Regions from separate parts of the Homo sapiens genome. Here regions 1, 3, 4 and 5 are each linked to region 2. Evidence: promoter capture Hi-C in 16 types of primary human blood cells and fetal thymus (Javierre and others, 2016). All regions are on one chromosome and are shown on one strand. Each heading gives the region's core, a stretch centred on a gene start or on the middle of the fragment in contact. The rest is flanking DNA. Distances are from core to core; before and after follow the strand shown. Region 1 overlaps HEATR6 (HEAT repeat containing 6). Region 2 holds the start of PTRH2 (peptidyl-tRNA hydrolase 2). Region 3 has its middle 4.9 kb from the start of MIR4737. Region 4 overlaps GDPD1 (glycerophosphodiester phosphodiesterase domain containing 1). Region 5 holds the start of GDPD1 (glycerophosphodiester phosphodiesterase domain containing 1).

What was found. The method cuts DNA at HindIII sites, captures the fragments that hold promoters and counts their contacts. A CHiCAGO score of 5 or more calls a contact.
Region 1: a contact is called between a fragment that was not itself captured here and the fragment with the promoter of PTRH2 in region 2, in 1 of 17 cell types (activated CD4 T cells). The highest score is 6.3, in activated CD4 T cells.
Region 3: a fragment that was not itself captured here is called in contact with the fragment with the promoter of PTRH2 in region 2 in 11 of 17 cell types (activated CD4 T cells, endothelial precursors, M2 macrophages and 8 more); the score reaches 12.3 in activated CD4 T cells.
Region 4: a contact is called between a fragment that was not itself captured here and the fragment with the promoter of PTRH2 in region 2, in 2 of 17 cell types (endothelial precursors and monocytes). The highest score is 6.0, in endothelial precursors.
Region 5: a contact is called between a fragment that was not itself captured here and the fragment with the promoter of PTRH2 in region 2, in 2 of 17 cell types (fetal thymus and total CD8 T cells). The highest score is 6.8, in fetal thymus.

Annotation. Positions count from the first base shown.
Region 1 is chr17:60,054,268-60,059,845 of GRCh38, forward strand. HEATR6 (HEAT repeat containing 6) reads right to left here. Exons shown (of 20, transcript NM_022070.5): 11 at 5,155-5,254; 12 at 2,781-3,136; 13 at 1,848-1,970; 14 at 1,248-1,334. Among named protein-coding and RNA genes, the nearest start is that of MIR4737, 14 kb to the left of the region's middle. The HindIII fragment of the contact is 2,146 bases long and covers 2,436-4,581 here.
Region 2 is chr17:59,705,513-59,711,114 of GRCh38, forward strand. PTRH2 (peptidyl-tRNA hydrolase 2) reads right to left here and starts at 1,918. Exons shown (of 2, transcript NM_016077.5): 1 at 1,859-1,918. VMP1 (vacuole membrane protein 1) reads left to right here and starts at 2,142. Exons shown (of 12, transcript NM_030938.5): 1 at 2,142-2,236. RefSeq lists enhancers at 1,732-2,387, 2,188-2,247. The HindIII fragment of the contact is 5,892 bases long and covers 1-3,144 here.
Region 3 is chr17:60,035,391-60,040,941 of GRCh38, forward strand. No RefSeq gene overlaps it. Among named protein-coding and RNA genes, the nearest start is that of MIR4737, 4.9 kb to the right of the region's middle. RefSeq lists enhancers at 1,631-1,760, 4,478-4,772. The HindIII fragment of the contact is 1,347 bases long and covers 1,834-3,180 here.
Region 4 is chr17:59,271,315-59,276,381 of GRCh38, forward strand. GDPD1 (glycerophosphodiester phosphodiesterase domain containing 1) reads left to right here. Exons shown (of 10, transcript NM_182569.4): 9 at 1,471-1,522; 10 at 2,337-4,656. The coding sequence ends at 2,459. Among named protein-coding and RNA genes, the nearest start is that of GDPD1, 53 kb to the left of the region's middle. The HindIII fragment of the contact is 939 bases long and covers 1,486-2,424 here.
Region 5 is chr17:59,217,504-59,222,565 of GRCh38, forward strand. It overlaps GDPD1 (glycerophosphodiester phosphodiesterase domain containing 1), which reads left to right and starts at 3,008. Exons shown (of 10, transcript NM_182569.4): 1 at 3,008-3,248. The coding sequence starts at 3,107. RefSeq lists an enhancer at 3,034-3,584. The HindIII fragment of the contact is 164 bases long and covers 2,646-2,809 here.

The DNA of each region.
Region 1 (5,578 bases), core at 2,259-4,758, 350 kb after region 2:
CAAATGCGAAGAAGGCTTGGGAGCTTCCACCTAGATTTCAGAGGATTCCCTAAGCCTGGGTGCCCATGCAGAAGCCTGCCACAGGGACAGAGCCCCCACTGAGAGCCTCTACTAGGGCAGTGCCAAAGAGAGATGTGAGGTTGGAGCCCCTACACACGGTCTCCACTGAGCACTGCCTAGTGGAACTCTGGGAATGGGACACAGCCTACACCTAGCAAAGCCAGAAGGGCAAGGCTGCCAGAAGCCTTGGAAGCCCACCCCTTGCACCAGTGTGCACTGGATGCGGGACATGGAGTCAAGGACTATTTTGGAGCTTTAAGGTTTAATGTCTGTCCTGCTGGGTTTTGGATTTGTGTGGGGCTTGTTGCCCCTTTCTTTTGGCTGATTTCTCCCTGTTGGAATGGGACTGTTTACCCAATGCCTGTACCACCATTGTATCTTAAAAATCAGTAACTTGTTTTTGATCTTACAGGCTCATAGGTGGAAGGAACTTGCCTTGAGTCACAGCTGAGACTTTGAACTTTTGAGTGATGCCGTAAAGAGTTAAGACTTTGGGGAACTATTGGGAGGAGGTGACTGTATTTTACAGTGAGAGGAACATGAGATTTGTGGTGGCCAGAGGCAGAATGATATGGTTTGGATGTGTGCCTCCTCAAACCTCATGCTGAAATGTGACCTCTAACACTGGAGGTGGGCCTAATAGGAAGTGTTTGGGTCATGGGGGTGGATCCCTCTTGAATGGCTTGGTGCTGTCCTTGTGGTAATGAGTGAACTCTCACTCTATGAGCTCATACGAGAGCTGGTTGTTTAAAAGAGCCTGGCATCTCCCTCTTGCTTACTCTCTTGCCATATGACATGCCTGCTCCCCCTTTGCCTTCCACCAGGATTTAAAGCTTCCTGGGGCTTCCTCAGAGGTAGATGCTGGCACCATGCTTTTTGTACAGCCTGCAGAACTGTGAGCCAGATAAACCTCTTTTGCATAAAAAACTAGGTTTTATGCAAAAGAAATATTAGTTTTACTATTGCTGGTTATATGTTATACATAAGCCTACCACAAACTAAACTGCAAATAAACTGAAATGTAAAATAAAACCAATTTATACTAGTTTCATGTTTTCCTGGATTATAAAACATAATTTTTGACACTGGAAGAAACCATATCATCTACTCCATTTATCACTGAGCTTCAAAATAAAACTGCAACTGAAGCATTAATAAAAGAAAACTATGAATTGACATTTATTTACCAAGAAGACTGGTGCTCTCTGATCAGGTGCTGCAGTGGAGTCTGGTTTATACTGCTGTATTAAGCCTGTGCCCAGTTCTTCCAGAAGCTGCCAAGAAAAAGAATTACCGAAGTGGAGCATCAGAACTAATGAATGACTTCACTTGAGTAACACCTTCACTCTAGTAACACCTTCACTCTAGTAACACCTCCACTCGAGTAACACCTTCACTCGAGTGACACCTTCACTCTAGTAACACCTTCACTTTAGTAACACCTTCACTTGAGTTTGGAGATCGCCTCAAATCAAGGGGAAACATAATTTGCAACTAATTTTCTTTCTTTTTTCAGTCACTGTTAACAGAGGCATTCTTTCAAGGACTGAAATCAACAGCTATATCTTATTAATTTGTTACTGAGTCAATGCGTGGGGTTTATATGTAAGAGCCGAAAACAGAAGAATGCATGTCCTCCTTACCTGAAATCTCTTTAAGAAATCTCAGAATTGAAGGACATGTGGCAGAAGAATATAAAGTGAAGAAAAGGAAGGATATAAAGTGAAGAAAAGGAAGGATATAAAGTGAAGAGAAGGAAAAAGCATTGTGGTTTTGATGAAAATTACCTTTGCTCCATGAAGCTGAATGGATGGATCTGCTTCCCCCATGCACTTGCAAATCACCTCTCCAAGCTCCATCAAGTAGGCTTGAGTCATTGAAAAGTAGCCCCTTGCCAGAAGAGTCAATACCTGCAAAGAGAGCATGGAATTAACCCTCTAAGACCTGAGTGCAAGGCTGCAATATCCAGAAAAGTGTTACAATATTTCAGAAATCGCTTACATTTAACAGGGGCTGAAATCTGTTGAATGAAATTAAGAACCATAATCTTTATTTTGTGACTAACATCAATAAACTGTATCATAGTTTTATGGTGCTTTAGTATATGATTGCTTTTCATTAACAGAATCTCATTTAAGTCTTGGAACTATTCTTTAAAGTAGGTATTAACTGAATTTTACAACTAAAGAACCTAAGCCTGACAAGATGAAAGGACATGCTTCATGCTGCCCAGTTAATCAGCAGCAGACCTCAGGACCAGGCCTAGTCTCAGATCATATTTGTATAGAAAAAGTAAACTCTTTTATCTAGGATTGTTTTCTTCCTTTGAAGGAACAATTATTTTGTTACTCTAAGCAGGTACAAGACCAAGGAAAAGCTTATAGAGAATTAAACATTTAAGTTGCAAAAATCAAAAATTAACTGTACAATTTCACTCAGAATTATTCTACAATCTATTACATCCACTTGTCATATAATACCTGAAGGGACTAAAATAATTTGCAATCAAAGAACAAAAAGGAATGAATCTGCTATTTTACAACCAAAGAACACCTCCCCAAAACAAAACAACAACAAAACAATACACCACCCATACCTAAAATACAATTCCCACGAACACAATTGACATATGGCTTGGTTTTACCTGCTCGCTCCTCACAGTCACTCTGAAGGAGGAATGGTTACTTCCATTTCAGAGATGAGGAAATGAAATCTCCTACCTGTAAGGCCTCCAGTCGCATGGGGGATGGTTCGTAGGTGCTTCCTGCTGCAGAGCCAGCATCGCTACCTGAACAGGAATCCTCCTTGGGCAGTACGACAATGGAAATGCAGAGTCGAATGAGCCAGCAGGGCTCTGAAGACCCCTTAGGTGAGCTAACTGACGTTTCTTCCAGAGAGGGTCCTGCAGGGGCTTTCTTCCACCAATCAGGAGGGCTGAGGTGAGGGGTTGCTGAATTGCTATTACCGAGTCCAGAAGAACATGGCTGTTGCAGAAGTAGTTGGACTTCAGGTAAAGGTGCGTGGGTGGACACTATAGCTCCCAAGAGTGTGAGACTTGACACACGAACATTAACATCTGTCAAAGGAAGCAGTAAGAACTTATCATCATGGCAACAACTACTGTAAAGATGGTAGTTATCCCAGCAGGCAATTAAAAATTAGTAGTTCCTTGTGTAACCTGAATCTAATCAAACTTCTAGACCTCATTTCCAGTTTGGAAATACATGGGACAGGAGAGTAAGTTAACACCATAAAGAAACAATCTGACAAATTGAGAATGTGATTTATTTTGTTATCTTTGGTGACAGAGCTTAGAGTTCACATTCTATAAGACAATTGGGTTGGATTCTTTCCTAAGTCAGTTTGATATAAAAAAGATGGGTGGGGGGACTCTACATTTAAAAAGACTACAGTGACATAATAACTAAATGCAATGCATGTACCTTGAATGAACCCCGGATTTTAACAAGAAATATTTTTAAAAAGCTAAAAGGTCTGTGTCTAGACTCATTTTTTTTTTTGCATGTGATGTCCAGCTGTTCCAGCACCAATTGTTGAAAAGTATCTGCTCCTTTGTTGTAGATCAGTTGACTATATTTATGTGGGTCTATTTCTGGGCTCTCTATTCTGTTCCATTGATCTGTTTGTCTCTTCCTTGGCCAGTATCACACTGTCTTAATTACTGTAGTTTTATAGTAGATTTTGAGGTCAGGGAATGTCAGTCCTTCAGTTTTGTTCTTCTCTATCAATATTGTGTTGGCTATTCCAGGTCTTTTGCATATCCATATATATTTCAGAATCAGTTCATTGATATCTGCAAAATAACTTGCTGGAATTTTGATTGAGACTGCACTGAATCTATAGATCAAGTTGGGAAGAAGTAACATCTTCACAATATTGAGCCTTCCTATCCAGGAATATGGAATCTCTGTCCATTCATTTAGTTCTTTATTTGATCAGAGTTTCACAGTTTTCTTCATATAGATCTTGTACATATTTTGTTAGGCTCATACCTAAGAATTTCAGGGTTTGAACATTTTAATGAAAAAAAGTTACTTGAGGATAAAGTCAGATACTTGAAAGGAAACTTTGAGGCATGGTGCACTCTCCTCAGCTGAAGATGCAGATAATGAAAAGTTGGTACAGTGGAATGAGCAGGGGTTGTTCTCATCTTATTTCTGCCATGAATGTGATGGGAAACCTTAGGGTAAGACTTATCTTTCTGGGTCCCTTTTTTACATATTAGTGTAAGTAGTGAACTGGACTTAGTTACATCTCATTATCTCATTTGAGCCTCATAAAAATCTTATGATGTAGTTATAATTCTTGCTGTTAGGAAGAAATTAGGGTTCAGAGAGGGTCATGGCCATGAGATGGCAAAAATGGGAGTGGGATCCAGACCCTTGGATTGACTTCAGGTCCCATGCTCTTCCCACTATGTCACAGAAAACATCCACTATTCCTTCCTTGTTACAATTCTGCCTGAAAAACTGAACTCATCAGAATGTGGTCCGATCTGAAAGCTTGCAAACAAAAGAAAGGCAAATCTACAAAAGGCAAGTGTTTATAGCACAAATACATTATGTGTAGGAGGAAATAATAAGACTGCACTTAGTAAAGATTTGAAGTTCTGGGGTTTTATCTGAACTTCATAGGAAATAACAATAAAGAAGTTAAATTTTGTATTCCAGTTTTTCTTTCCAAAAAGTAGATAATATCTATCTGTCCGTCTGTCTGTCTATCTAACCATCCATCCATCCTCTACCTATGTGTAAGGGATATAAACAATCATACTCCTCAGGGGGGCTGCTTGCACCTGGCTCAATCTTAATTCTAAAGGGATACTCTGGTCACTGCCCTGAGCATTAAACAGGCAAACTTTACAATTAATCCTCTAGCTCACTTCCACTGGGACTTGAGGGGTCAATTCTTGCAACAGCTTATACCCCTGAAAAGTTGAGAAGAATAAGCAGAGATCTCTTAAGAGTTGTAAAAATGCTTTGAATATATACATATATCTATATCTGTATATTTTTACTAATAGTCTGCATCTGACTGATACAAAGAAGCCATCAGTTTTAAGCCACTACAAACCTTTGTGGCGAATATAAGGCTTTATCTGGTTCCAGACTTTGGTCAGCAGGCTGAGTTTTAGACGATCATAAGGTGCATTTGATACTAAATTTGCAAGGCACTGTAAAACACAAAAAGTAGCTCATCAAAAGGCTTGATTAAACCACAGCATAGAACAAATTTTGCAGCATTTAATTAAAAAAGAAAAGTTTTCACACAACTAAAAATTAGCCCCCCTTTTTTTTAATAACACTTGTATTCTCATTGGTACAACTAAAGATAAAGAAGTATTTTTAGCAAATCATTTATTGGGACATACAGAGATTATAGATAAGATCAGACGAGTAGGTACAGACTTCCAAATAGTGTATTTTTAATAAAACTATTACTTAGTTATATTCTTAAGTCAAGTTACTTTTGAGCTATGTAAAACAGTATACAAAAT
Region 2 (5,602 bases), core at 668-3,167:
GGGCTTAAGCAATTCTCCTACCTCAGCCTTCCAAGTAGATGGGACTACAGGTGCATGCCACCACACCCTCCTGATTTTTTAAAAATTTTTTATTTTTGTATGGACTTGGTCTTGCTATGTTGCCCAGGCTGGTCTGGAACTCCTGGCCTCAAGGAGTTGCTTGAGGTCGAGGCAGCAGCATCTCGAGTCCAGTTCAAAACCAATCTGGGCAACCCAGTGAGACCTCATCTTTACAAAAAATTTAAATAATTAGCCAGATGTGGTGCCACATGCCCATACTCCCAGCTACTCAGGGGATAAGGTAGGAGGACACCTCAGGCTGGGAGGTGGAAATTGCAGTGAGCCATGATCGTGCCACTGCACCCCAGGCTGGACAACAATGCAAAACCCTGTCTCCAAAAAAAAAAAAAAACCCAATAAGATCAAAAACAGGACAGTGAAAGTTCCAAAAGTTACCAAGTTTATTTATTATGTCCCATATCTCAATGGAGTGTCTAATCATAAAAATGCTAAAATTAACACATATTTTTGTTCTTTAGGATGTTCTAATCTCATATTAATCTGATCAGATTATCATCTAACTCCTCTAAAACAACATGTCTGTCTCTTTTTCTGTACACTTACGACAAGCGTATCAATAAGCCTAGTGCCTAAGACTAAGGTAAAACAAATAACCATTCTTTGTCTCATAAATAATTCTGGGCAATGACAGCAGAACAAAATAAGTACATCCTATAAAATCTTCTTCTTGGTGCCTTCTAATTCCCCTGCCTCAGTAAACCCATTTCAGTAGTGCTCTTGATCCCATTACCTCCTTCTGCACCATGCTCCACCCGTTAATCTTTTTTTAAGAGACAGGGTCTCACTATGTGGCCCCCTATGTGGCCCAGGCTGTTCTCAAACTCCTGGGCTCAAGCAATCCTCCTGTCTCAGCCTCCCAAAGTGTTGGATTACAGGCTGAGCCACCGCGCCGGGTCTGCAGTTTACAACCGAAAAAAACAAACAAACCTTTCCCAAATCTTCTCTGACCCTTAAGCCACTGCCCCACTTTCCCTGTATAACATATTCCCAGAGTCTAGTATGGTGCCTGGGGTATGTCAGTAAGGATTAATACCTCTCTAGTTAATCTCTTTGTGTGAAAAAGGGGGGAAATTTTTTCTTTCTTTTTTTTTTTTTTCTGAGACGAAGTCTCACTCTGTCGCCCAGGCTGGAGAGCAATGGAGCGATATCGGCTCACTGCAACCTCCGCCTCCCGAGTTCAAGTCATTCTCCTGCCTCAGCCTCCCGAGTAGCTGGGATTACAGGCACGCGCCACCACGCCGGCTAATTTTTGTATTTTTAGTATAGATGGGTTTTCGCCATGTTGGCCAGGATGGTCTCGAACTTCTGACCTCAGGTGATCCGCCCACATCAGCCTCCCAAAGTGCTGGGATTACAGGCGTCAGCCACCGCGCCCGGCCCCAAATTTTCGACTATATTCTTAGAAACCAATTCTTTCCACGCAGAGCTCGACAGCTCGAAACGCTGGGGATATTCATAAGTGCCCAGCTGAGGGTATGAGGCCTGCTCGCTATTTTATCAATTTCGGAGAGAGCGCATCGATACTGCCTGCCTGGAGGCTTTGCTGGGAACTAGAAATTCTGAGTCTTCCCCTCCCCAGCAGCCTGTTCCTTTCCTCCAAAGGACGGTTCGCAGAACAGGAACAGAGGGCTCAGCGGCCCCTGGGCGGAAGACAGTTTATAAAGGAGAAAATGAAGAAGGTGGGTAATGCAACGAGGTGAAAAGAAACGTTCCTACTGGCGAGAAAATGAATAATGATATTGGTCTCCTTCGCCCTGTAAGGAGCCAACCAACCTACCTACAGTACCTCCTTTCCTCACTCGCGCCTTCCCTTCTTCTGGGCAGCGAACACGTTTCTATCGCGTGAGCTACCTCTTCCGGGGTTCCTGGGTGACAAGTTCCGGATCAAGAATCACAAAGCGAGCAGTCATTCTTCCTCTTGCCACACCCACAGGGCCCGCACTAAGAGCCTAACTGAAATCCCGCGAGGATCAACCGAGCTCGCCGAAAGGAGGGAGGAACGTATCCCTTCTGGAGGCTGTCTCAGGGGGCAGAGGGACCGGACCGGAAGTGACGTGAGCGGGTTCCGGTTGTCTGGAGCCCAGCGGCGGGTGTGAGAGTCCGTAAGGAGCAGCTTCCAGGATCCTGAGATCCGGAGCAGCCGGGGTCGGAGCGGGTAGGTAAACTAACTCAGGGAATTGGGGACCGAAGCCTGAGGCTGTCCTCAGAGCTTGGCGTCTTCCGGAGCTCTCCCACTTAGGCATTGCGGATCTGGGGCACTGTGATTCCGACTTCCAGCAGTGTTTTAGGACGCTGCTGACTGGATGTCTCACCCTGGATGTCTCACGCTGGCGGTAGCCAGGTTATTTGGGACACCTTCTCATGGTTGGTCACCCGGACATTGAACCCAGACACCGGGCTGTTCGTTCTCCTCTCCGCGTACTTGGAAGCCTTGCTAGGCTTCTTTAGAGAACCTCTTAGTCCCGGGATGTCCAGGACCTTGGAGTAAGTGGAGAAGGTCTTCCCTGCTGATGACTGAGCTATTTCTCAGGATCTGTCAGTTTGGTTTTTGCTCTCCCGAACCTCTGGCGCATGATGCTAGATGTATTCGCTCCTAAACGAAATCCAGGCGTGCAAGTGCCATCTAAAGCTCTGGTGGTACAGGGTAGCCAAGGGAATGGGCCTTCGCTCCGCAGAGCCCTTGGAGAGGAACTTCTCAGATTTTTCACTGCTTTAATGAAAAAGAGTTGTCTGCCTTTCCAAACCCCTGAACCCCGACCTCTATATCTTATTACAGTGGAGGTATTTGCAGTAAAACGTGAAGGTCGACTTAATCTCTAAAATTCCAGAAACCATATGTGGCCCTGTGTCACACTGCTAGATTACTTATGACCTCCAGAAGATTTTACACAATCATCTTTTATTTACCTGCAACTCCATGTAAAAATCTAATAATACACGTAGACTGGCCACTGTTGATGTGTTTTGGCAGCATCGCTCCTTATCCTAATGTTAACGTCTTTCATTTCTACTTTGGGGCTTGTCAGAGATTTTTGTGGACAGATTACATTGATCATTTGAAGAAGCTTGTACAAGTGTTTCTGGTGTTGTCATGATAGAATTTAATATTCCAGTTGCTACTACCTAGTAATTGTATTGTCATTAGCTCTGATTTTAGTTGTGTATTCTTAGCATAGATGATGAAAGGAAGAAACTTACTTACTAGGCATCATTGTATGCATTGTAGCTTATGTTTTTACTGTGGAAGAGGGATGGTGGTACCTAGACAAATGTGACTGATTTGTGTAGGTATGAAGTGACTCTCTCGAGTAGAAATTTTATATTTTACTACTTTGCCTACATTATCTTAAGGCACTGAAGGTTACTTTTTTCCTTTGAGGGATATATCCTACTTGATTACAATTGATTAATACAGTTTAATTTCTATGAGTCACATTCCAGAAGAAAATATACATAGAACCATGATGCCTTTTACCAGTTTACCTATAGCTAGTTAAATCAGTTTGTCAGTTTACATATTTTTCTTATTTTGAGTTTGAAAATTTGTTCACGCTTGGCTTTGAAACAAGGTGACAAAATTTGAGATATGGAATTATGATAGATGTATCATTAGTTTAACATTCGGTAAATTTGCTTCTTGATTATATAACTGCCAAATCTGATCTTATCTTCTTTATGTTCAATTGAAGGACTGATTATCCAGTTTTTCTCACTTTTCCAACTTCTCGCTTTTGGCTTGAATCACCACTTTTTAGGATTTTGGTAACTATTAAACTTTAAATCAGAAGACCTGGATTGAAGTCTGGGCTCCAACACTTGTTAAGTAATGGCTGATAGGTTACCTAACATTCTGAGCTGGTCTAGATTGTGTTGATAAAAATTCTGCTCACTTTCTTTCATACAACTGTCACAAAGATTAAATGAGCTAGTAAACATGAAATTATTAAATATGAAAATATGGTATCACTTTACTCTTAGAACTGGAGATATGTCAGTGTAGAATACTGTTACTTTGCATCATTATCTGAAAATATTATCACATACTTTTCTGAGATGATCTTTGCCCCACCTTTGAAAGTTAGCAAAGAATAGTTTGATACCGTGATCCATTGAATTAGTCACCATGGTTAATAAATAGGTTCCTGGAAAATGAGTATAGTTTTGCATTCGGGAGTTTAAATCTGATCCTTTTTGGTCGTCATGTATTGTCACTTCAGAACTTCCAAGTGCAGAAAAAGCTGAAGTTTTTTGCCTACGTATAGTTAACTAAAGAGTAGAAGTAGTCCTATCTTACTTACATTAAATAAGAAACCTTATTATTGGGCCGGGCGCGGTGGTTCACGCTTGTAATCCCAGCACTTTGGGAGGCCGAGTTGGGCGGATCACGAGGTCAGGCGATCGAGACAATCCTGGCTAATACAGTGAAACCCTGTCTCTACTAAAAATACAAAAAATTAGCCGGGCGTGGTGGCAGGCGCCTGTAATCCCAGCTACTCCGGAGGCTGAGGCAGGAGAATGGCGCGAACCCAGGAGGCGGAGCTTGCAGTGAGCCGAGATTGCGCCACTGCACTCCAGCCTGGGAGACAGAGCCAGACTCCGTCTCAAAAAAAAAAGAAACATTATTATTTCACTGAAACCAATATTTAGAATTAGAAGGAATCTCTGTGAATGTATAAGTAGATTCCCATTTAACAGAGGAGAAAATTAAGGCTCAGAAACAATCAGTAATTAGTAATTGGCTTGCTTGAGGTCATCTGGCTTAGGTAGTGCTAGAACCTGAACTGTAAGGTCTCAAGTGTTCTTTCTGTTCTAACAAGGTTGTATCCAGGCATCTTATTATGGTTTGGTAATATTTCCAAGTTCACATGAAAATAATTACTCTTAGGTATTAAAGGGATCTATCCACATACACACGTAAATACACACATACGCACATAAGCCTTATTTACAAACTTTTTTTCCCTCTTTAGCTAGTTTAGTCTTATAAATTGTAGCATAACAAAAACTGTGCTTGGCTAGATTTGAAGTGTAATAGATTAAGGAAAGAAAATCAGTTATATTCTTCAGAATAGTTTGTCTGAGTTCATGCTTCATGACTGTCATGTGTTGAGTTATCTTTCTGGCAAGTGGAAATGACGGAGGAGCCTTAACACGTGTCTACTGTGAATGTTGTTGCTAAAGAGTAGGAGAGAACTGGCCAGGCGCCGTGGCTCACGCCTGTAATCCCAGCACTTTGGGAGGCCGAGGCGGGAAGATCACCTGAGATCAGGAGTTTGAGACTAGCCTGTCTAACATGGTGAAACCCGGTGTCTACAAAAAATACAAAAAAATTAGCTGGGTGTGGTGGCAGACGCCTGTAATCCCAGCTACTCAGGAGGCTGAGGCATGAGAATCGTTTGAACCCGGGAGGCGGAGGTTGCAGTGAGCCGAGATCGCGCCACTGCACTCCAGCCTGGACAACAGAGCGAGACTCCATCTCAAAAAAAAAAGAGAAGAAAATAAAAGAAAAGCAGTAGGAGAG
Region 3 (5,551 bases), core at 1,257-3,756, 330 kb after region 2:
CTTTGCCTTTTCCATAATGTCATGTGTTCATACAATATGTAACCTTTTGAGAGTGGCTTCTTTAACTTACCAAAACTTCCTTCCTTCTGCTTGTTTTAGGTTTATTTTGCCCTTTTTTTTCTTTAGTTTATTAAAGCTGAGGTTTAGATTGTTGACTCGAGCCTTCCTTCTTTTCTAAAATAAGCATCAAATGCTATAAATTTCCATCTGAGCTCTTCTTTAGCTGCATCTACACATTTTGATTTATTGTATTTTTGTTTTTGTTCAGTTTTAAGTATTTTCTAATATCCTCATTTCCTTTGAGACTACCTCCTTTGACCCATGGATTACTTAGAAGTATATTATTTAATTTCCAACTATTTAGAGATTTTTGTCAGTTATCGATCTCTGGTTTAATTCCATTATGCTCAGAGACCTTGCTTTGTATTATTTCTGTTCTTTTAAATTTGTTAAGGTTTGTTTTATGGGCTTGGAGTGGTGGCTCATGCCTGTAATCCCAGCACTTTTGGGAGGCCAAGGCGGATGGATCATTTAAGGTCAGGAGTTCGAGACCAGCCTGGGGAACATGGCGAAACCCCATCTCTACCAAAAATACAAAAATTACTCAGGTGTGGTGGCACAAGCGTGTGGTCCCAGCTACTCGGGAGGCTGAAGTGGGAGGATCGTTTGAGCCCGTGAAGTTGGGCTGCAGTGAGCTGAGATTGCTCTACTGTACTCCAGCCTGAGCAGCAGAGCAAGACCTTGTCTAAAAAAGAAAAAAAATTGTTGTTTTATGATCCAGAATGTGATCTATTTGTTCTAGGGATTACTGAGAAAGGCAGGTTGGGGTGTCCAACTGTAATTGCTGATTTGCCATTTCTCTTTTCAGTTCTGTCAGGTTTTGCCTCATGGATTTTGAAGCTCTGTTGTTAGGTACATAGATGCTTAGGATTGTTAATGTTTTCTTTGAAAATTGACCTTGTTATCATTATGTAATGTCCCTCTGTATCCTTGGTAAATTTCCTTGCTCTGAAGTCTGTTTTGTCTGATGGTATGTAATTACTCCAGATTTCTTTTGATTAGTATTTGTATGATATATCTTTCTTTTTTGTCCTTTCATTTTTAATCTATACTATTTACTTAAAATGAGTTTCTTAGACACATATAGTTGAGTGTTGGGTTTTTTGTTTGTTAGTTTTTTACATTCAACAATCTATCTTTTTATTAGCATATTTCAACTTTTTAAATTTAATATAATCGTTGGTATGTTTGGATTTACATTTAATATTTTATTGTGTTTTCTATTTGTTCTCTATTTTTCCCTGTGTTTTTCATTCCTGTTTTGACTTTTCCTGCCTTCCTTTGGATTATTTGAATTTTTTGGAATTCCATTTTAATTCACTGATTTTTTTAACCATATCTTTTTGTGTAAGTTGAAAATGTAGTTGCTTTAGGGATTACAAAACACCTAGGTTTTCATAGTCTATTTAGGTTATATATTTAGTGCTTCACGTGAAATGTAGAAACCAGCCTGACCAACATGGAGAAACCCGGTCGCTACTAAAAATACAAAATTAGCCGGGTGTGGTGGCACGCACCTGTAATCCCAGCTACTCGGGAGGCTGAGGTGGGAAGATTCCCTTGAGCCCAGGAGTGTCTTCAGGAAATTAAGGTTCTCTCTGTTCTCTACAGGTCAAGTAGTTATGGACGGTATCCTGAACATTCTAATTTTGTGTTATGAGAATCTGGGCCATGTTGGAATCCTGTGTTTTTGCTTTGGCAGGCAATCGTCCTGGTTAGGTTCAGTCACAAGTTCCCACCTGCCTCCTGCGGGTTGTGGTTCAATATCAATTAAGCTTCAGAGCCTTTGCCGCGCTGTTCAGATCCGCCCCGTGTGTGCGCCACCCAGTGGCGGGTACGAGACTGGACAGTGCCTTGTCCCACCGTTCAGTTCTCAAAGCCTTTGTTCAGATCCACACATGGAATGCCTGGGCATGAGCCCAGGAGTTCACATACAACTTTAGGGTATTGCCTTCTTGCGTTCCCTCCTCTCTGAAATCTCAACACTTTACAGTCTCAGGGGTCCCTCTTTCCGGTCCTCTGGCTAGAAAGTCAGGGTTTTAACTGTACTGCTCTGCCCTACAGTTTCTGTGACTGTCTGCCTCCACGGCCAAGCATGGAAGGTTGTGTAAAGAGAAAAAAGCCATGGGCATGACTCCCTTGCTGTTGGGACCATTCTTCCTCTGGCAGAGAGATGAGTTTCCTTCCCTTGAAGTTCTAGGCACCTGCCTGGCTGCCACTGCTGCAGTGAGATTGCCTAGGGGCTGGTGTGGGGAGAAAAGAGACAGCAAACACAGGATTTCCCCGCTTTTGCTGACCTATAGGGGTGCTTACCTCTCTCCTAAGGTCAGAAACAGAGGCTCAGAGCTCTTTCTATCTGCATCTGGTATGCAATTCCAGGTTTTGGTTCATCTTTGAGTCCAGGCCAGGAGACCCCAGAGGGGGAATAAAATGGCAGACTTACTGCCACTTTGGTGGTGTTTAGAGTTCTCTTTTCCTTCCCTGATCTTCCTGCTACCACCTTGTTTTCAGAGCTAGCTGCTCCATGCCTGTGGTCCAGGATTCATAGTAACATTCAGTGGGAAAGACAGGACGGAGTATGACTGGAATGAGAATGGGAGAAGAATTTTTATTTAAAAAACAAAAGCATGGATTTTTAAAGGTTGAAAAATGCACACTAATTGGGGGAGAAATTTCTCTTTCCCTCCACAGTGTGGTAGCTGTAAGCCTGATTCCTGGCTTGAATTTTTTTATTCACTTTTCCAGATGACCTTTAGAATCATTTTGTCCTTAAATTAGCCAGGTGTGGTGGCACACACCTGTAATCCCAGCTACTTGGGAGGCTGAGGCACAAGAATTGCTTGAACCCATGAGCAGAAGTTGCAGTGAGCCAAGATAATATGACTGCACTCCAGCCTGGGTGACAGAGTGAGATTCTGTCTCGAAAAAAAACATCATTTTGTCCTTTAAAAAATTCTAATTTTGATGGGAATTTTATGAAATGTATAGATTTGGAGGAAAGTAGCCTTTTAATAGATTGAGTCCTTCAGTCTAGTAATGATATATCTTCTCATTTAAAAAAATCTTCTTTTATGACCACTGGTAAAAGTTTTTATTTTTTTTCCTCAGAATCCTTGCATAAGCTTGGTTAAATTTATTCTCAGGTATTTTTATTATTAAAATTTTTATTAAAAATCAAATTGGTTATTGCTGATATATAGAAGAGCTACTGATTTGGCATGTTTACTTTGTAACCAGCTGCCTTACAGAACTTTTATTGGTTTTTTTACTTTCTGAATATTGGTTTAATTACTTTCTGAATTTTGGTTTTATTACTTTCTTGGTTTTCTGCACACAAGGATTTGTGAATCCAATCACTCAGACTGGTTTTCTGCAAATAATGATAATTTGGAACCTCTTTTTGAAAAAAAACTTTGAAAATTTTGATTTTTGGTTTATTGAATCACATTGGCCATTAAAATTTCTTGTACAGTATTAGGTAATATTGGTGATATCATTCTTGCTTGTCTTGGTTCTGAGTTTTAGGGAAGTCCCTATTAAGATAGGTATATTTCATTATGCTAATGAATTATCTTTTTGAATTCTTTTTTAAAAATAATTTTGATCAGAAAAGGATACTGCATTTCGTCACTCTTCCAGCATCCATAAAGATGACCATTTGTATTTTCTTATTTGACCCACTAATGTGATTGCATTTTATTAATAGGACTTTCCTGCATTCCTACAGCAAATCCTGGTTGGTCATGGTGGAGACTGTAAAGCAATCATTCTCAAGGAGGGGCTTTTTCACGCAGTATGCCTGGAGAGAGGCTGCACCACCACCGCGTTCCTCCCCGATGAGTCCAGTGAGCCACGGCTGCGGGCTACGGTGTTGTGGTGCTCGGGTGTGTTGGAAGGAAATGGTAATTGAATGAGTGCTCATTTTCCAAGACTTTGGCCCCACCCCTAATATAATGTCCATGTTCCTGGAGCTGAGGATGCCTTCAGCCTAGGCTTGAGGACTCAAGGTGTGTACTAGAACCAGACAGACATTCTCCAATATCCCACTCTAGGGATCTTACTCCAATGAGAAGCAGAGAAATGCTAGCCCCGGGAGAAGACCTAGGAAAAGTGTAACAAGAGGCACCATCTGTCACTGAGCCCCTCTCTCTATGCCAGGCTCCGAGCCAGGTGCTTTACATTATGGGAGCTACTCCTGAACAACTGTGTGAGATACTGGTATCCCTTTACAGATAAGTGGTCAAGTGACTGCCCAAGGGTGTAGTCATTAAGTAGAGGAGTTGCCCTTTAAAACCAGGAGTAATTCCTGAGCGTGTGCAAGCTGGAGATGTGATTCCTGAAGACTGGCTCGCAGAGATGGGTCATGAGGCAGAACCAAGACCTACTCCCCTACTTCCCTGTTCAGTTTGTGTGGCCTCTCCCACTTCTAGTCCCTTCTCTTTCCTGGGAGGGACCCATGGGGGCTAGACAGAGGGCTGTTCCTAGTAGGATAGAGAGGTCCTGCAGCAGCGCCTCTTCCTCACTGCTTATCTTTCTGATCCAGGTTCCCGAGGCATGCCAGCTAGCACCTGACCTACAAGATTCCAGCTGTTTAACTGCCATCACAAAGGCTCATGATGTGTTGACAGTATTTCTGCCTGCTGCTCTGAAAATTCAAGGAAATAAATACCTGACATTTATTGAATGCCAGAAGCTGTTCTAAGAACTTTCTATGTATTATCTATTTTAGTCATTATAATATCCTTATGAAATAGGCACTTTTATCCCCATTTTACAGATGAATAAAATAAGGCACAGAAGGGTTAAGCAACTTTCACAGGTAGAAAGCTGCACAGCCAGGATTTAAGCCCAAGCTCTTAACCACTGCACTACATCAATGCAGCAAAGGCTGAATGAACCAGAGTATTTGATTTACTTAGCTCTTATGCTGGAAAGATGGTGAGGCTTTTGCTCATGGTCTGTATTCAAGCACAAATACCAAAATCAAGGACACCTTTGCATTGGTGCTCCATAGGAGGTTTCCTTTTTTGTTGTTTAGAGAGAAGGTCTTACTCTGTTGCCCTGGCTGGAGTGCAGTGGTGCGATCACAGCTCACTGCAGCCTTGACCTCCAGAGCTCAAGCAATCCTCCACCTCAGCCTCCTGAGTAGCTGGGACTATAGGTGCGCACTTCCACACCCAGCTAATTTTTAATTTTTTTTTTTTTGTAGAGACCGTCTCCCTATATTGCCCAGGTTGGTCTAGAATTCCTAGGGCTCAAGTGATCCTCCCGCCTTGGCCTATTGGGATTACAGATATGAGCCATGGCACCCAACCTCAGAAGAGGCGCTTTTCTTGAGTTCTGGAAGGGGATAGGAATTAATGTTTTGTTTGTTTGTTTGTTTTTTACTCGTCACAGAAAAGGTTCAAAGAGTAAGATAAGCAACGTCTCATAATGCTGTAGTCTAATGGACAAGGGCCCTAGCCATCTGTGCCTGGATGACTCTTCCTCC
Region 4 (5,067 bases), core at 705-3,204, 430 kb before region 2:
TGCTGGTGAAAAGAAGTGTAGCAACACAGTATATATAAAAGTGTATGTTGCCTACAGCACATTTCTCAGAAAAATTTGCTCTGCACCAAGACTTAACAGCAGAAAGGAAATCCCACCTATAGAGTGGATATCAACTTTAAAGTAAATGCCTTAATTTAGACATGATGAGTTTAATTTTAGTAAAAATCACTAAATAATTGTACTATATTTTGCTTTAAGATGGAACCTTGAATGCTTAAATATTTTAATAGTCCCAAATCACAACTTTTTATTATTTAACGCCTTTTCTTCTTATTTTATTTTATTTTATTTTATTTTATTTTATTTATTTATTTATTCATTTTTTGAGATGGAGTCTTTCTCTGTCGCCCAGGCTGGAGTGCAGTGGTGTGATCTCGGCTCACCGCTTCCTGGGTTCAAGTGATTCTTCTGCCTCAGCCTCCCGAGTAGCTGGAACTATAGGTGCCTCCCACCATGCCTGGTTAGTTTTTGTATTTTTTAGTAGAGATGAGGTTTCATCATGTTGGCCAGGCTGATCTCGAACTCCTGGCCTCATGTGATCTGCCCACCTCAGCCTCCCAAAGTGCTGGGATTACAGGTGTGAGCCACCGCGCCCAGCCTTAACGCCTTTTTCAAAGAGTCTTAAACAATTAGTTTTATCTTTTCTCTCTGTCAGTGTTTATTCTTTTTTGCTTTATTCTTGATTTAAGCTCTAGTTTTCAAGGATGCCTTTTTTTTGTACTCAAGTAAAACCAGGATGCATTTTTTTTCTTTTTTCAACCCTATTAACTGACAAGATGCATTGTTAATTGGTGTTAAAAGCACATGATTTCTAGTTTCTGTTATTTAATCATTCTAATAGACATAACAGAATAGAAATAATGTCTTTCCAGTGCAATGAATTCCTATCTTGCTCAAGAGGTTTGTATTTTGAAAGTTCACTTATCAGTGAGTTACTTGGAACAAAAAAATATTTTTTCCCTAGACATAGGATAGTGTAATTAATGGACATAATGCTTCTAACATCGCTTACAAAAGACTAATCCATTGTGTAATGAACTATGATGTTATAGAAATTGACCTGCATTTGTTGACTTATTTTAACTTGGAAAGTTAGGAACACACATTAATAGTAAGAAAGGAAAGCCAGCTCTTTCTCCTTCTTCAGCAGTGAAAATGAGGCAGCCTCTTTTCCATTGAGCTGTGCCAACAAGAATGGGTCTCCTATGAATCTGGTAGCAGCAAGAAGTAGAAAGGAGGTTCTGGTTGTCCACCAACCAGCAGCCTGCAGTGAAAGGAGATCCAGCAATTAAGACATAAATTAATTCACAACAGCTATTATTACTTGAGACCATTTCTTTTATTGCTGAAGCATTGGGATTAAATTAAACTGGAATTACTAAACTCTAAATTGACTAAATTAGGACTAAGGACTAAATTCCTAAATCAGTTTTGCTTTTTCTTTTCTAGCTTACTAATGAGGAAAGCTTTGTTTGACCACCTAACTGCTCGAGGCATTCAAGTAAGTTTCTGGAATGATGCATTTTGGAAGCAGCATAGCTCACCAGTTTAACACAAATATAAAGGGCAAGAACTTTTAACTGACTTAGTTTGGCCCTTGACTCTGATGCTGCTGCTTTACTGATCCACAAATGAGGACCTTAAGCTCTTCCTTACACTTAGCAATAAAGCATTGGCATTTCTGGATCTAGATTCCTCTTATGTACAGAATAGCTGATGCCAGAGGGGTGGGACAGTGTTTGTGTGTGTGTATATATATATAAATATATGTATGTATATTTCTTTTTTTACTTTTTTCTTTTTTTTTTTTGAGATGGAGTCTCACTCTGTCACCCAGGCTGGAGTGCAGTGGTGCAGTCTTGACTCACTGCAACCTCCACCTCCCAGGTTCAAGCAATTCTCATGCCTCAGCCTCCTAAGTAGCTGGGATTATAGGCATGCACCACCATACCTGGCTAATTTTTGTATTTTTAGTAGAGACTGGGTTTTGCCATGTTGGCCAGGCTGATCTCGAACTCCGGACCTCAGGTGATCTGCCTGCCTTGGCCTCCCAAAGTGCTGGAATTACAGGCGTGAGCCACCGCGCTCAGCCAGGAGTCTGTATATTTAACAAGCACCATGAATTTTTTTTTAACACTCCTCATTCCTGTAAGGAACAAAGTGGAATTTTAAAAAAGGATCTAATGATTTATTTAAATGATAGCTTTAAAAGGTTATTTCTAAATGTACCAAGACTGTAGTGGATAAATACTGTTATAAAAATAATTTTCTATTTTAACATTTCTTCTCATACTTCTCACACTTCTAATTTTCAGGTGTATATTTGGGTATTAAATGAAGAACAAGAATACAAAAGAGCTTTTGATTTGGGAGCAACTGGGGTGATGACAGACTATCCAACAAAGCTTAGGGATTTTTTACATAACTTTTCAGCATAGAAAAAGAGGTACTTAGAAGTATTGAAGGAAAAAATGAAGACCTAAGAAAAAAATATTTCATGATCATTTCCCTAAGCCATTTCCAGAATGGTAAAAGGTTTAATCAGTTTTTATTACCTCATTTTTAAGCCTGTATGAGAATGTAGAAACTATATATTATATGTATATTTATTTTAAATAATATTGTATATTTTATGTTTGTAAATTGTTTAGAAAGATAATTGGTTATGAGATGTAAGTTTTAATTTCTTAATGTGCATTTTTGTTTCTAGATCTTATACAGAAATCTTGATTAATAACATACACAGAAATGTACATACTACATCATCTACAGAAATCTTGATCAATAACCTAGAAACTAGGTTATCTAGGTTATTGATCAAGATTTCTGTAGATGATGCAGTGTTCTATCATAAGTAATTCTGGAATCAAAGACTATTGGATACATTTGGCATTGGGCTGAGTGTGGTGGCTCATGCCTGTAATCCCAGCACTTTGGGAGGCTGAGACAGGCGGATCATCTGAAGTCAGGAGTTAAAGACCAGCCTGGCCAACATGGCAAAACCCCATCTCTACCAAAAATACAAAAATTAACCATGCGTGGTGGTACACGTCTGTCATCCCAGCAGCTCTTAAGGCTGAGGCACAAGAATTGCTTGAACCCGGGAGGCAGAGGCTGTAGTGAGCCAAGATAGCACCACTGCACTCCAGCCTGGGAGACAGAGTGAGACTCCGTCTCAAAAAAAAAAAAAAAAAAAAAAAATGGGAGGCCGAGGCGGGCGGATCACGAGGTCAGGAGATCGAGACCATCCTGGCTAACATGGTGAAACCCCGTCTCTACTAAAAATACAAAAAATTAGCTGGGCGTGGTGGTGGGCACCTTAGTCCCAGCTACTCGGGAGGCTGAGTCAGGAGAATGGCGTGAACCCGGGAGGCGGAGCTTGCAGTGAGCCGAGATCGCGCCACTGCACTCCAGCCTGGGCTACAGAGCAAGACTCCGTCTCAAAAAAAGAAAAAAAGAAAAAAAATTGGCAATAGTCTTCACTGGAATACAATCAATTAGTAAAAGATTTTTTTTTTTTTTTTGACATGTAGTCTTGCTCTGTCGCCGAGGCCGGAGTGCAGTGGTGCGATCTTGGCTCACTGCAACCTCTGCCTCCCAGGTTCCAGCAATTCTCCTGCCTCTGCCTCCCGAGTACCTGGGATTACAGGTGCCTGCTACCATGCCCAGCTAATTTTTGTATTTTTAGTAGAGACAGGGTTTTGCCACGTTGGCCAGACTGGTCTCGAACTCCTGACCTCAGGTGATCCACCCACCTCGGCCTCTCAAAGTGCTGGGATTACAGGTTTGAACCACTGCACCCGGCCAGTAAAAGAAATTTTGAAGGCCATTGCAGCTATTTGGTAGTGTCTTGTTATTTCTAGGTGTACCTTAGTTAAAGAGGAAAAATAAAACGGAAAAAAGCTTGGAAATCAGTGATGTGTAGTTATTTGGCAAGTTATACATAATCAGCAGCAGCCAGGCTCAAGAAAATAAAAGTTGATTAGTTGATCAGAAATAAAATCTGTAGAGTGAATTAGATTTCTGAGTTGTTGTTGTTAATGGAACATTCTATTTGAGACCTTTTTCAGGTGTGTAGCAATTCTACCATGTCCATTTTTTTAAGCATTAAAAAGGAACTTACCAGTTGTAAATTAAGACAAGATCCAAATAGTCATATTTTTGTGTTTCCTCTAAAAAAATGTAAGATTTCCATTTTTGGCACTGACTAACTGAGCCTACATCTAGATTTTAAATACCATCTTGAATCCTAATAATTAAACTGATGAAAGTGCATATCATTGTTCCTAACATTTATGAACCCCCATAAAGATGTTCCTGATCTTTAAAACTCATTAATCTGAGTATTAAGTAGAAACAGAATTTTCCAAAGCATTAGACATCACTTTCTCAGTTTATCTGAGGTGACTTCGTGTACATCTGTTTCTAATATATTTGACTAATTTTCATGATCTCAGATTGTGAGGTAAATGTAATCTGGAATAATAAGTGTCTTTTACCTAGATTACATCTCTCATTTGGAGTTTGGCAATGAAACTGCTATGAAGAATGACTGTACTCTCCTATCTGTCCCTGGATGACATAAATATCATTTGCTTTGTTGTTTAAACTGAAATAAAGTTTTCCAAGAACAAAGTAAGCATTCTTCATTCTTTTTCAGTTTTAATTCCAAATATACTTTATAGATTTTTTTGCAGAATTTAATGAGGTGATGCTTTAATCATATGAATAATAAATGCACCTGAGATTTCTCTCTAGTAAAGAAAAGAAAATATGGAAACACTTTTATGGTAAGAAAGTTACTTCTTGGCATTTGAACAAATAACTTGGGAGGGTAATCCACTGAATCAGTCATTTTCAATTTCACTTATTGTAACTTATGGTTATAGTTGCTAGGGATCATTTTGATCATCTTTGATAGAATTCTTTTTGTTATTTCTCCTTTCTAAATTTTGCTTTGTTATGATTCAGAACAGATCATATTAAAGGGCCAGCTTATATTTTATGTAAACCAGTAGAAGAAAAAGTACCCAACAAGGTAAAGAT
Region 5 (5,062 bases), core at 1,478-3,977, 490 kb before region 2:
TTTCTTCTCTCGCCTTCATTAAAAGAAAATTATATAAAATAATAAAAGAATTCAGAACTCTGACTTTGAATTCATACTTTTCCTGTTGTTCTGTCTTCTTAGAAAATATAAGAATGAACCTGTAATCCCAGGACTTTGGGAGGCCAAGGTGGGCAGATCACTTGAGGTCAGGAGTTCAAGACCAGTCTGGCCAACATGGTGAAACCCCATCTCTACTAAAAGTACAAAATTAGCCGGGCCCAGTGACTCATGCCTGTAATCCCAGCACTTTGGGAGGCCGAGGCAGGTGGATCATCTGAGGTCGGGAGTTCGAGACCAGCCTGACCAACATGGCGAAACCCTGTCTCTACTATTAGCCGGGCCAGGTGATGCATGCCTGTAATCCCAGCTACTCGGGAGGCTGAGGCAGAAGAATCGCTGGAACCCGGGAGGCAGAGGTTGTGGTGAGCTGAAATCGTGCCATTGCACTCCAGCCTAGACAACAAGAGCGAAACTCCTTTTCAAAAAGAAAAGAAAAGAAAAGAAAAATATACACACACACAATATTAGCCAGGCGCGGTGGTGCGCATCTGTAGCCCCAGCTACTCAGGAGGCTGAGGCAGGAGAATCACTTGAACCCCCGGGGAGGCAGAGGATGCAGTGAGCCGAGATGGCACTGCTGAACTCCAGCCTGGACCACAGAGTGAGACTCTGTCTAAAAAAAAAAAAAAAGCGGTTAGAATTTGAGGTTTATATATAATCTAAAATTTACGGGTGGGAAGGGGTAGGGGGTACTTCCAGAAGAACAAATGACTTCTTAGAAGCTGGGGAGAAAGCACTTTTTGGAAAAAGAAATGATTTTTTGGAAACATAAATGTGTCCTTAGGAGAATACCCATGAGATGTCATACTTTTGTGACAATGTCTCTCATCTCTGACAGGATTAGAATTGTTCCCAGGGAGGAGATTTATGACAGTTAAGTTCTTCTGGGAGCCTTTGATTTTAGGTTGATAAGGGATTCCAGGAACTTAAATGCCTTCAGCTCAATATATATATATTTTTTAAGAGACAGAGTCTTGCTCTGTCGCCCAGGCTGGGGTGCCGTGGCATGATCTTGGCTCACTGCAAGCTCCGCCTCCCAGGTTCAAGCCATTCTCCTGCCTCAGCCTCCCTAGTAGCTGGGACTACAGGCATGCACCACTATGCCTGGCTTATTTTTGTATTTTTAGTAGATACGGGGTTTCACCATGATGGCCAGGCTAGTCTCGAACTCCCGACCTCAGGTGATCTGCCTGTCTCAGCCTCCCAAAGTGCTGGGATTACAGGCGTGAGCCACCATGCCCAGCCTCAAAATAATTTTTATGCCACAGTGGTTTATTCTAGACGCTTCCATAGTCATCAGGTGATATTTTGAAAAATAGAACTATGTGCGTCAGTTGATCTACAGGAAATAGTTTAACAGCCCTAAACAGAACACATGATTTTTTAACCTGTAAGTTTCCTCAGAATGTTGCTCTGTTGCCCAGGCTGGAGTGCAGTGGCACCATCAAGGCTCACTTCAACCTCGACTAAAGGAATTTTTTTTTTTTTTTTTTTTTTTTTTTTTTTTTTTTTTTTTGAGACGGAGTCTCGCTCTGTCACCCAGGCTGGAGTGCAGTGGCGCCTTCTCGGCTCATTGCAACCTCTGCCTCCCGGGTCCAAGAGATTCTCCTGCCTCGGCCTCCTGAGTAGCTGGGATCACAGGCACACGCCACCACCCCTGGCAAATTTTTGTATTTTTAGTAGAGATGGAATTTCGCCATGTTGGCCAGGCTCCTGACTTCAAATGATCTGCCCGCCTCAGCCTCCCAAAGTGCTGGGATTACAGGCTTGAGCCACCGTGCCCAGCCACCCCCTATTTTCTTCTAATTTTCTTTTTATAGTTGAGATAGGGTCTTGCTCTGTCGCCCAGGCTGGGGTGCAGTGGTGCAGTCATAGCTCACTGCAGCCTCGATTTTCCAGGCTCAAGCAATACTCCCACTTCAGCCTCCCAAGTAGCGTGACTACAGGTGCACGCCACCACGCCGGGCTTATTTTGTTTTATTTTTTGTAGAGATGGGGTTTCGCCATGTTGCCCAGGCTGGTCTCGAACTCCCGGGCTCAAGCGATCCACCCTTCCTTCCCGGCCTCCCTAAGTGCTGGGATTACAGGCGTGGGCCACCGCGCCCGGCTGAATCAGGATTTTAAATATTCACTCTGCTTTTCTAGTCCTGTGGGAGATATGGTCTTCTCCGTAAAATTTCTCCCTCAGTCCTGGGTGATTTATTTCTTTTGCATTGAAGTGTGTGGCTTTTCGTGTGTTAGCAGTTTGTAATTTGTCGGGTAAAAGGAAAACTAGTAGGGCCTTCTGGAACTTAGTTATCTGTCTTTCTAGGACTTTTAGGTAATACCTTATAACCTTAACAAAGTTTCCTTATTTTATACGGACTTGTAAGTCAACAAATACTTCTACAGTGCCTATTGTGTACAAAGAATGAGGATTGCACTTTCACAATGAAATGAGGGAGGACAGGGGCCGATCTCTCAGATATTTGACTGATAAACCAGTACCTTTTCTAGTATATGCGACCATAGGGGAAATTCTCTCTAGGCTAGATAAACGGAGGAGTTTATTTAGTGTTTTAGCAAGCTTTATCGCCTCCATAGGTACAAATTATTTGCATTTTCTAGAGCAAGGGATAAGACGCGCCCTGGAATCTTTCCTTTTTGATGTGGATTTTCCAATTAGGAAAGGCTGCCCGTGAATAGTCTTTTCTGCTTGAGTGATGGCCAACACACTGGCAGGTTTGCAAGCTTTCTCTTCATGAGGGTCCGTCCACAGAGCTAGGTGACAAACGCTCAGTCCAGGATCTCTGCAGGTTCCTACACGGGAGCCGGAGAGCGCCTGCGCGTCGGAGCCTCTTTGTTGCTGGGGCGCTGGGGTCCAGCTGCGCGTGCGCAGTAGGCCGGCACCGACAAGTGCGCTGCACCAGTGGCACCGGCTGGGGGCGAGCCGACCTCGAGCAGCCGCCGCCGCCGCCGTCGTTGCTACTGCCGCAGCGGAGTTCAGAGGGCCCGGAGGTGGGAGACTTCCCACACGGTGACTGAGATGTCGTCCACTGCGGCTTTTTACCTTCTCTCTACGCTAGGAGGATACTTGGTGACCTCATTCTTGTTGCTTAAATACCCGACCTTGCTGCACCAGAGAAAGAAGCAGCGATTCCTCAGTAAACACATCTCTCACCGCGGAGGTGAGAGGGGTCCCCAGAACCCGATGACGGAGGTGGGGGAGGCTGAGGGTCCTTTGCGGCTCCGCAAAAGGCAGCCGGGTGCCAATCCCTGAGAGTTTGAGGAAGAATGGGGTTGTGTGAATTGAGGGCTCTTCCGGAGGTGAAGGCTGTGTGAAGGGAAGGTCTCCTGAGGGGAGGGAAGGAGAGGGATTCCCGGTCAGAGCCACGGCGGGGGTCTCTCGAGGGCAGCAGTGTGAGGGGTTCTCTGAAACGGGAAAGACACGGTCGAGAATGAAGGGTAGGTGGAGCGTTTCTCGGCGGATGGAAGGATGATCGCAAGGTCCCTTCCTAGCAGCAAGACACAAAGGGGGAGCGCCGTGCAGAACCGAGGGTACCCCGCGGGGGGCACCGGGAGCACACTGCTCCGAGCGAGCTAGTGGCTGAGTGGATGGGAAGAGCCGAGGCGACGAGGAGGGCTGGGGATTTGCATGAAGCTGGACGAGCTGTAACCCCTTGTCTGCGGTGCTGGGGGCCCGTCCCACCCCCACGTTCCGAGCACTCATAATTGAGAAGAGAGGGAAACCGAGTCCCCCGAGCCAGGGACATTTCCCAAGGTCACAATTAGAGCTAGGGCTGAACTGAGACAGGAGCTACAGCGTCCTGGTCCTCAGGGCTGGAAACCTTGCATCTTTTTTTTTTTTTTTTTGAACACTGCAATAAATAAATAAATAAATAAATAAATAAATAAACACGCAAAGACACGTGGATTTTCAACAGACTAAAAATGATTTCGTTTAGGACAGGACAGTATTGTTTAAAGAAAACAAAAATAAGTTTCTTTTGGAAAAGTGTTTTGCTAAAAGGAGCCCAGGTAGTCCACCCTCTAATTTCCCAGATAACAGGCCAAATCTTTGCTTCTTCATTATTGTGTAATAATGTGTCTTCATTGCATTTCAACTATGATGTATAAAGTGCGGTGAAATTGGATTATTTTCAATCAATTTTAACTGTTCTTTAAGGCTGAATCTTAAACCGGTTTAAAATTTGCTTGAAATTTAATACACACTTGAAATGATAATTTCTAGGAGTTTACAGTCTAAAACTTGGTGTAGTACCATAATCACTTTACTAACAAGTATTGGCCAAGGAAAAAGGTTTTGAAATATAAATACGGAAGTACATTATCATTCTTCTATATAATTTTATTAGTTAAGCATAGTTCTAATGAGTGACTTCAATAGTATTCTAGCCTTCCCACTCATGAAAAGCCTCAGAGGTTTTAAAGGGTGGTCAGCCAAATGCCTTGTTATTGTTTATTTGGGTTATCTGTTTTAATAGCTACCTGGTTAAACTGTAGGATGACATTTAACTACTAAGGTGCCTTCAACCATTGGAACCAGGGACCGACTTTTAGTATTCAAGTTGCTGTCACAGAAGCAATTTTCTTTTTTCTTTTTGTGTTTTTGTTTGTTTGTTTTTTTGTTTGTTTGTTTTGAGATGGAGTCTCGGTCTGTCACCCAGGCTGAAGTGCAGTGGCGCGATCTCGGCTCACTGCAAGCTCCTCCTCCCGGGTTCACGCCATTCTCCTGCCTCAGCCTCCCGAGTAGCTGGGACTACAGGCGCCCGCCACCACACCCAGTTAATTTTTTTTATTTTTAGTAGAGACGGGGTTTCACTGTCTGAGCCAGGATGGTCTCGATTTCCTGACCTCGTGATCCGCCCATCTCGGCCTCCCAAAGTGCTGGAATTACAGGCGTGAGCCACAGTGCCCAGCCTTTTTTTTTTTTTTTTTTTTTTTTTTGAGACAGAGTTTCCCTCTTGTCGCCCGGGCTACA